Regions from separate parts of the Homo sapiens genome. Here region 2 is linked to region 1. The links are contacts of gene promoters, found by promoter capture Hi-C in human tissues and cell types (Jung and others, 2019). All regions are on one chromosome and are shown on one strand. The core of a region is centred on a gene start or on the middle of the fragment in contact, and the rest is flanking DNA. Distances in the headings are between cores, read along the strand shown.

Region 1 (3,498 bases), core at 287-2,786:
CCTTAACCTCAGTCTCTCTTTTCCATTGTTTTTACCCTCTGACTTCCCGTATCATCACAGCGGAGAAATTTTGCAGGGGACACAGGACATCAACCCATCTCCTCATTCCAGTCTTTGAGACTGTATCCAAATGTCCCCTTCCTACTATCATCTGAGTCCCACAAGGTCTGAAGTCGTCCCCCAAAGTCTCTTCTGTAAAAGGACAGCAACGTAACAGAATTGTCCCCCGCCCTCCAGATGCTGGACTGGAGTGATGGAGGGAGCGCAGAGAGGGTACTAACTTTTGAAGCATTTGCCGTGGTAAGTTCAGACTGCCTGCTAGTGTAGAATATCCCAGTGGCTACAAATAGGTGTGGGAGAGACATTTCCTTATTTTGCATGTGGTTTGATTATAATCATATGCCTAAGAATAGTTTGCAGCAAGAAGAGTGGCAGTGCCGCCCTTCTCCATTCCCTTGGGCAAAATGCTTTATTTGCTTCTCGATCCTCTCCACTGTACTCTGTCAACTCACTGTTTTGTTTTGTTTTTGAGACGGAGTCTCGCTCTGTCGCCCAGGCTGGAGTGCAGTGGCACTAGCTCGGCTCACTGCAAGCTCCGCCTCCCGGGTTCACGCCATTCTCCTGCCTCAGCCTCCGGAGTAGCTGGACTACAGGCGCCCGCCACCACGACCGGCTAATTTTTTGTATTTTTAGTAGAGACGGGGTTTCACCGTGTTAGCCAGGATGGTCTCGATCTCGTGACCTTGTGATCCACCCGCCTCGGCCTCCGAAAGTGCTGGGATTACAGGCGTGAGCCAGCGCGCCCGGCCTACTCACTTTTTTTGAAATAAACATGCAGGTCCCAGGGTCTGTCCTGCACTGTATAGCACACATGAGTCTCAATATCAGGCATGATTCTGTCACCCTTGGCTCTTCTCTCCCAGTAAACCAAACCTAACCCCATGTTCCCAAACGTGTGTCTCTGGAAGCCCCCTCTCCCCAGCCAAAGCGCCAGGCACGCTGGACAGAGGCCACCCTAGATACAAGGACCGTTCCCACCTGGGGTCTGGCCCTGAAAGAAAAGTGGGAACGTAGTCGACAAGGACTCCTCTCCAAGAGAGATTCCTAAGACAGATGGTGGAACCCTGGCGGGCAGGCAGCAGCGGCACTGGCTCAGTCAAAGCCACGCTTTATACTCGTTTTGGGAAAGTTTCGATGGGTGTTAGCCCAGGCCAGAACCACAGTGGATGTGTAGGCAGCCAACCACTTGGCTCCGGATGCTCCAATCCCTCCCCTGTCACTCACCCCGGAGTTACACCCCACGTCGAGCCCCAGAATCGGCCCGTTCTCGGGACTCTCAGGAAAGAGCTGTCGAAGCAGCTCCGGGGGCAGGAGGCGGAGCCGTTGCTCCGGAGGGTGGAAGCGAGAATAATGAGGAAAATTTCCGAACGGGGCGGCGCCAGGTGCCAGAACTCGCGATTCCTCTTCCGCTGCGGTCTCCTTAACACTCCCTCCATCCAGTTCCGTGGGCACCGCCATTAGCCTCAACACAGCCTCTGGGCCGTGGCGGAACCGGAAGCCGGGAACCTGCTGTCGGCGTGGGCGGTGGCGGTGCCAGCGCGCGTGCGTCGAACGGCTAGGGCGGGTGGCTAGAATTCTGCGGTGAATCAGAAAAGCTGTCCTGATTTCCTCTCGCTGTATACCTGGAGCCGGCGAGCGCCTGGGGCTTGCCTTGTATTATTGAACCCTCATCACAACACTGGGAGGGGATTAGCAATATCATCCACGTTTTACAGGGATGAAACAAACTCTGAGGGCTAAGTGTCTTGGCCAAGCTGACATAGTTTGAAACTTGGGCTACTTGACCCAGAACAAGTATACTAGTTTGTTGGGATCTTGGAAATCAATTTTAGTCCAATTTCCTTTCTTTATAAATGCAAAAAGTGAGACCGAGAGAACTTACTTGTCTGGGGTCATACATTGAATCTGTGACTCAAAAACTTCCACCCGGTTCAGGAAAGGGTAGCCAGGAGGTGCAGGTCACTTGCGAAGCCAGCCGACTCAGCCCTGTCCCCCAGGGGCAACTGTAGACCATGAGCTCCTTGAGAGGCAAGGACCGTGCCTTAAGAGCCAGCACTTAAAGAGTGCTTACCAGGCACCAGACACCCTTGTAAGCTCCTTAGTCAATCCTCTCACCCCGTGAGAAAATGACCGTATTATTATTCTTTTTATATAGATGAGGACACTGGAGTAAAACAAAGTAACTTGTCCAAGATCCCACAGTTAGAAATGATGGTACTAGGATTCGAACCCAGGGAGTTTGGATCCAGAGGATGTGCTTGCAACGGTGTGTTATTCTCAGCCTTGAGTCTCCTATACTTAACATGGGCCTGGCACAAAGATGCTCAACAAATGTTGTTGAATGAAAACTCAATAGAGAATACAATAAGGCCAGATCTGTTTGGGGAAACTTTAAATGGAAGGGAGAAAGGATGCCAACTGAAGCAGACATAGTGGAATGGAGTTGGGCAAGATGTGACTCAGAGATTGGAAATAACAGAGCTGATAAGGAGAGGAACTGAAGGGTCAACCTAGGTAGCAGGTTCCAGTCAAAAGCCAGGATGGCCCAGAATATCCGTCAGGGTCAACCAAGCATCAGCAGAGTTGTGCAGGACCCCCAACCCCACCCCTGCACCTGGCCCACCCATCTTAAAGGGGTATCCTGCTCCATGAGGCTGGCAGTTCGGTAAACTTCTTATAAGGCACTGGAGCATGACTCCTGCAAACAGTACCATCAGGAGTTAAAATAAGCGCTGTTTTCCTCTCAGTTTTTACTTTATATTTTCTTTTTCTTTTCTCCTTTTTTTGAGATAGAGTCTCACACTATTGCCTGGGCTGGAGTGCAATGACATGATCTCGGCTCACTGCAACCTTTGCCTCCCAGGTTCAAGTGATTCTCCTGCCTCAGCCTCCCAAGTAGCTGGAATTACAGGCACCCGCCACCATTCCTGGCTAAGTTTTTGTATTTTTTAGTAGAGACGGGGTTTCACTATGTTGGCCAGGCTGGTCTCGAACTCCTGACCTCGTGATCTGCCCACCTCGGCCTCCCAAAGTGTTGGGATTACAGGCGAGAGCCACCACGCCCAGCCTTTATATTTTCATCTCTATCTGGCCTGCTGTTTCTCTAGTTTCACTTATTTGAGGACACAAGTTAATAAAAGTCACTCTGGAATTTAGTAAACCACAGTATTCTGCACAATTACAGAAAAGGAGAAAAAGCTGCACCGTTTTGACAAATTTTGGTGAGCTGAGCTGAACTTACCTCTTTTTGTCACTAGATGAAGCTAGCACAAATAATTAACAATTTTCAAGGAGCTGGAATCACCTTGCTTCCAGGACAGTGAATGGCAAGAACTCCTGACCCTGGGGTTCCTCCAGAAGCAAAGATAGGCCCTCGTAACATTACTGGTAATCTAAAATGCCTGACAGGTGACCTCATAAAGAGGTGTTTTAATTTGA
Region 2 (3,498 bases), core at 375-2,874, 1.2 Mb after region 1:
CTACATCTCACAGGAGAAAGCCTCTTCACTTGACTGGAACCCAACCTTCTGCTAAAGGTCAAGGAATCAAAACCTCCAGTAAGATGGTCAGGGCTACCATCTGTAGCTGGGTTGGAAGGAAGGCTTGCTGCTGTGTTACCATAAACCTGAATAAAATGACCTGCCCTGTTTCTCCTTTTACAAGATACTGTGGTTGTTTCTCATATACCATGAATTTCATGGATCCATGTGTCTTTGTGATCACCAGGATCATGAACTTACAAAGCACCCAAGTGAAAACCCCCCGCTTAAGTTAGGTGTTTAAAGAAAGCCGTGCACTCACCACCCCCACTCCCCGATTTTTACCCATTCACTAACACAAGGTTAGAATTTTCCATGCCTAAACTACCATCGTGTGGAAGACAGATCTTTGTGGGAACTGGAACATGATGCTGCATTAACTCTCAAGGATATCCAGTCATTTATAACACCGGCACAACCAACATCCTGGCTTTGTGGATTTGCAAGACAGAAAGCCAGTGAAGAAAAAAATCTGAACTATGAATTTACCTTGAACTGAAAACTGCAGGACAAGGGGACAGTGTTGTCTTGTGGGGATAACTTCTAGCATTTCATTCTGAAGAACAGTTTGTGTGTCACACTGCCACTCTCAACCCCTTTAAAAGGATGAATCAAGACCACAGCACTAAAAGGGACGGGTGGCAGTTGGCTGCGTAATTGGGCCTATGAAAAAAGATCAAGCTAGCAACCAGGGCAATTGATGCTTTCATTTTCCCACACGACGCCAGAAATATGGGAGACATCAGGAACCGGAGCGAAGGGACATGTCAAGTCACCAGTTCCTTTTAATGAACACTCCTGCCGAACCCTTCAGCTCTCGGCCCACTTCCCTCTGATTCCTGCTAACCTTCCCGCTCATTCCAATCCTCTGCAGCCCCTACCCAGCCTTCCGCATCCCTTCCTGCCTGCTACTCACAAATTCCCAACCACTCCTCCCACATTTTCCTCTGTTCCCCCTCCCCTTCCTTCACTTTCCTCCATCCTACATCATTCTCCACTCCATTCCGAACTCAATCCTCATCTGCAATCCTGCAGGCTTCCAAGCCGCCCATCGGTCTCCCGCGAGCTGCCCCCGCAGTCCGGGCCAGCGTCCTCGGTGCCCCTCGCTCCCACGCCTCTTCCCGACTCGGTTCCTTCCCAACGGCACCCGACCTCCCCGCCCCCCGACCGCTCCCGTCCGAGCCTCTCATTTCTGACCCCTCCATCCGCACGGCTCTGGGCTTGACCACTCCTCCACGGCCGCCCGAGGGCCGATCCCGAGAAAGGACGAGGCGGCACCCTCCGCCCCGCACCCCTAGGCCCATTACCGGCCCCGCCGCAGCTGCCTCCTCCCGTGATGGTCTCTGCCGCCCCCGCTGCCGCCGCCGCCCTAGCCCGGTGGGAAGGAGGGAGGAGCGAGCGAGTCCCGGGCCCCGCGGCGACGGCCGGGGAGCTCCCAGGGCGGCAGGGCGGGGAGGGAGGGCGGTGGGCAGCCCAGCCGGCAGGCAGAGAGGGCCGGGCGTCTCCGGCAACTCGGGCGCCCCCGGCAGCAGACGCCCAGAACCGCCCCGGCTCCGGCTAACAATAGGATCCGGCCGCAGCGCACTGGCTCTTATAGGCGCCGGCACGTCCTGACCGAGACCCGGGGCTGGCTGGGAAATGGAGTCTACGGGCCGGCCCACACCCAGCAGCATGCCGGGAGTTGTAGGCGGTAACTGCTGCAAAGCCGAAGCCGGCGCGCAAACCGGCTCCCGAGGCGGCAGCTCTGCTGCAACCTTTTAATGGGGGAAGAGAGGAGACTCAGCTACAGATCTTAAATAAACGAATTCTCCTCCAAAGCTCCCTTTTTCTTTCGTGTCCTGACCACACGCCATTAGGAACATGATCCCCCCTTCTCCTCGCTCATGGGGTCTTAGTCTTCAGCAATATGACTTATTGCAGCCTGCGCAGGTTATAAAGAATACAAGCAATATCTTGAGTTATCTACTTATATGAGGGAGTGCTTTGAGTGTTTTCTTTAAAAAAAAAAAAATTGCTGCCGGGCGCGGTGGCTCACGCCTGTAATCCCAGCACTTTGGGAGGCCGAGGTGGGCGGATCACGAGGTCAGGAGATCGAGACCAACCTGGCTAACAAGGTGAAACCCCGTCTCTACTAAAAAATACAAAAATTAGCCGGGCGTGGTGGCGGGCGCCTGTAGTCCCAGCTACTCGGGAGGCTGAGGCAGGAGAATGGCGTGAACCCGGGAGGCGGAGCTTGCAGTGAGCCGAGATCGCGCCACTGCACTGCAGACTGGGCGAAAGAGCGAGACTCCGTCTCAAAAAAAAAAAAAAAAAAATCTTCTCAACTTTGCAAACTAATTTATTTATTTAAATAGAAAAGGGGTTTTCGCCATGTTGCCCCGGCTGGTCTTGCACTCCTGGGCCCAGGCGATCCGCCCGCCTCGGCCTCCCAAAGTGCTGGGATTATACGCATGAGCCACCGCGCCCTTCCGCAACCTATTTTTAAGAAAGGGCGCCAGGCGCGGTGGCTCATGCCTGTAATCCCAGCACTTTGGGAGGCCGAGGCGGGCGGGTCATGAGGTCAGGAGTTCGAGACCAGCCTGACCAACATGGTGAAACCCTGTCTCTACTAAAAATACAAAAATTAGCCGAGGGTGGTAGCACGTGCCTTTAATCCCAGCTCCTCGGGAGGCCGACCCAGGAGAATGGCTTGAACCCGGGAGGCGGAGGTTGCAGTGAGCCAAGACTGCACCATTGCCCTCCAGCACGGTCAACAAGAGCGAAACTCCGTCTCAAAAAAAAAAAGAAAAAGAAAAAGAAAAAAAAGGGGAAAACCAAGATTAAGAAGTCAAAAGTTGTATGTGATTTGCCAAGGACACATAGCCTTGGTTTCTTCTTTGTTGTCTTTCCCTTGAACTATAAGGCTCGGCAAGCTCGAGCTGCATTCTCTTGTCCCCCGACCCCCACCCCGCCCCCTCATTTTGTTCTGTCATCTTGTTTGCTTCTACTTTCCCCCTTCCATACTCTGCTTGAATACACTGGCCTCATTGCAGCTCCTTCAACTGGGCAATCATTCTCTTACCTCAGGGCCTTTTGTCTGGCTTCCACCAGCTAGCCACATACTTACTCCCTCACATAATATCTGCTCGAATGTCCCCATATCCGAGATCTTCCCTAACCATATTTCTTTTTCCCTGCATTAAGAGACAGGATTTCACTCTGTCACCCAGGCTGGAGTGCAGTGGCGCAATCACGGCTCACAGCAGCCTCAAACTCCCGGGCACAAATGCCTAACCATATTTCTAAAATGGTGCTTCTCCTTAGTTTCTATCCCTGTGCCTTATATTTCTTCTTAGCATCCACGTATTTGTTTTTGTCTTGTCTCACTTGACTAAATTCGGTGAGAGCAAGGAATTGTTTTGTTTACTGTATCCTCAACACACAGTACAAAGCCTAGTA

Evidence for each region. The method cuts DNA at HindIII sites, captures the fragments that hold promoters and counts their contacts. A contact is called where the count stands out against the background at its distance.
Region 2: a contact is called between the fragment with the promoter of CSRNP2 here and the fragment with the promoter of BCDIN3D in region 1, in 1 of the 25 tissues and cell types used here (IMR-90 fibroblasts).

Annotation. Positions count from the first base shown.
Region 1 is chr12:49,841,570-49,845,067 of GRCh38, forward strand. It overlaps BCDIN3D (BCDIN3 domain containing RNA methyltransferase), which reads right to left and starts at 1,537. Exons shown (of 2, transcript NM_181708.3): 1 at 1,285-1,537. The coding sequence starts at 1,518. RefSeq lists enhancers at 880-1,249, 1,820-1,879. The HindIII fragment of the contact is 12,873 bases long and covers 1-3,498 here.
Region 2 is chr12:51,081,972-51,085,469 of GRCh38, forward strand. CSRNP2 (cysteine and serine rich nuclear protein 2) reads right to left here and starts at 1,625. Exons shown (of 5, transcript NM_030809.3): 1 at 1,368-1,625. RefSeq lists a silencer at 1,187-1,676 and an enhancer at 2,050-2,676. The HindIII fragment of the contact is 9,557 bases long and covers 1-3,498 here.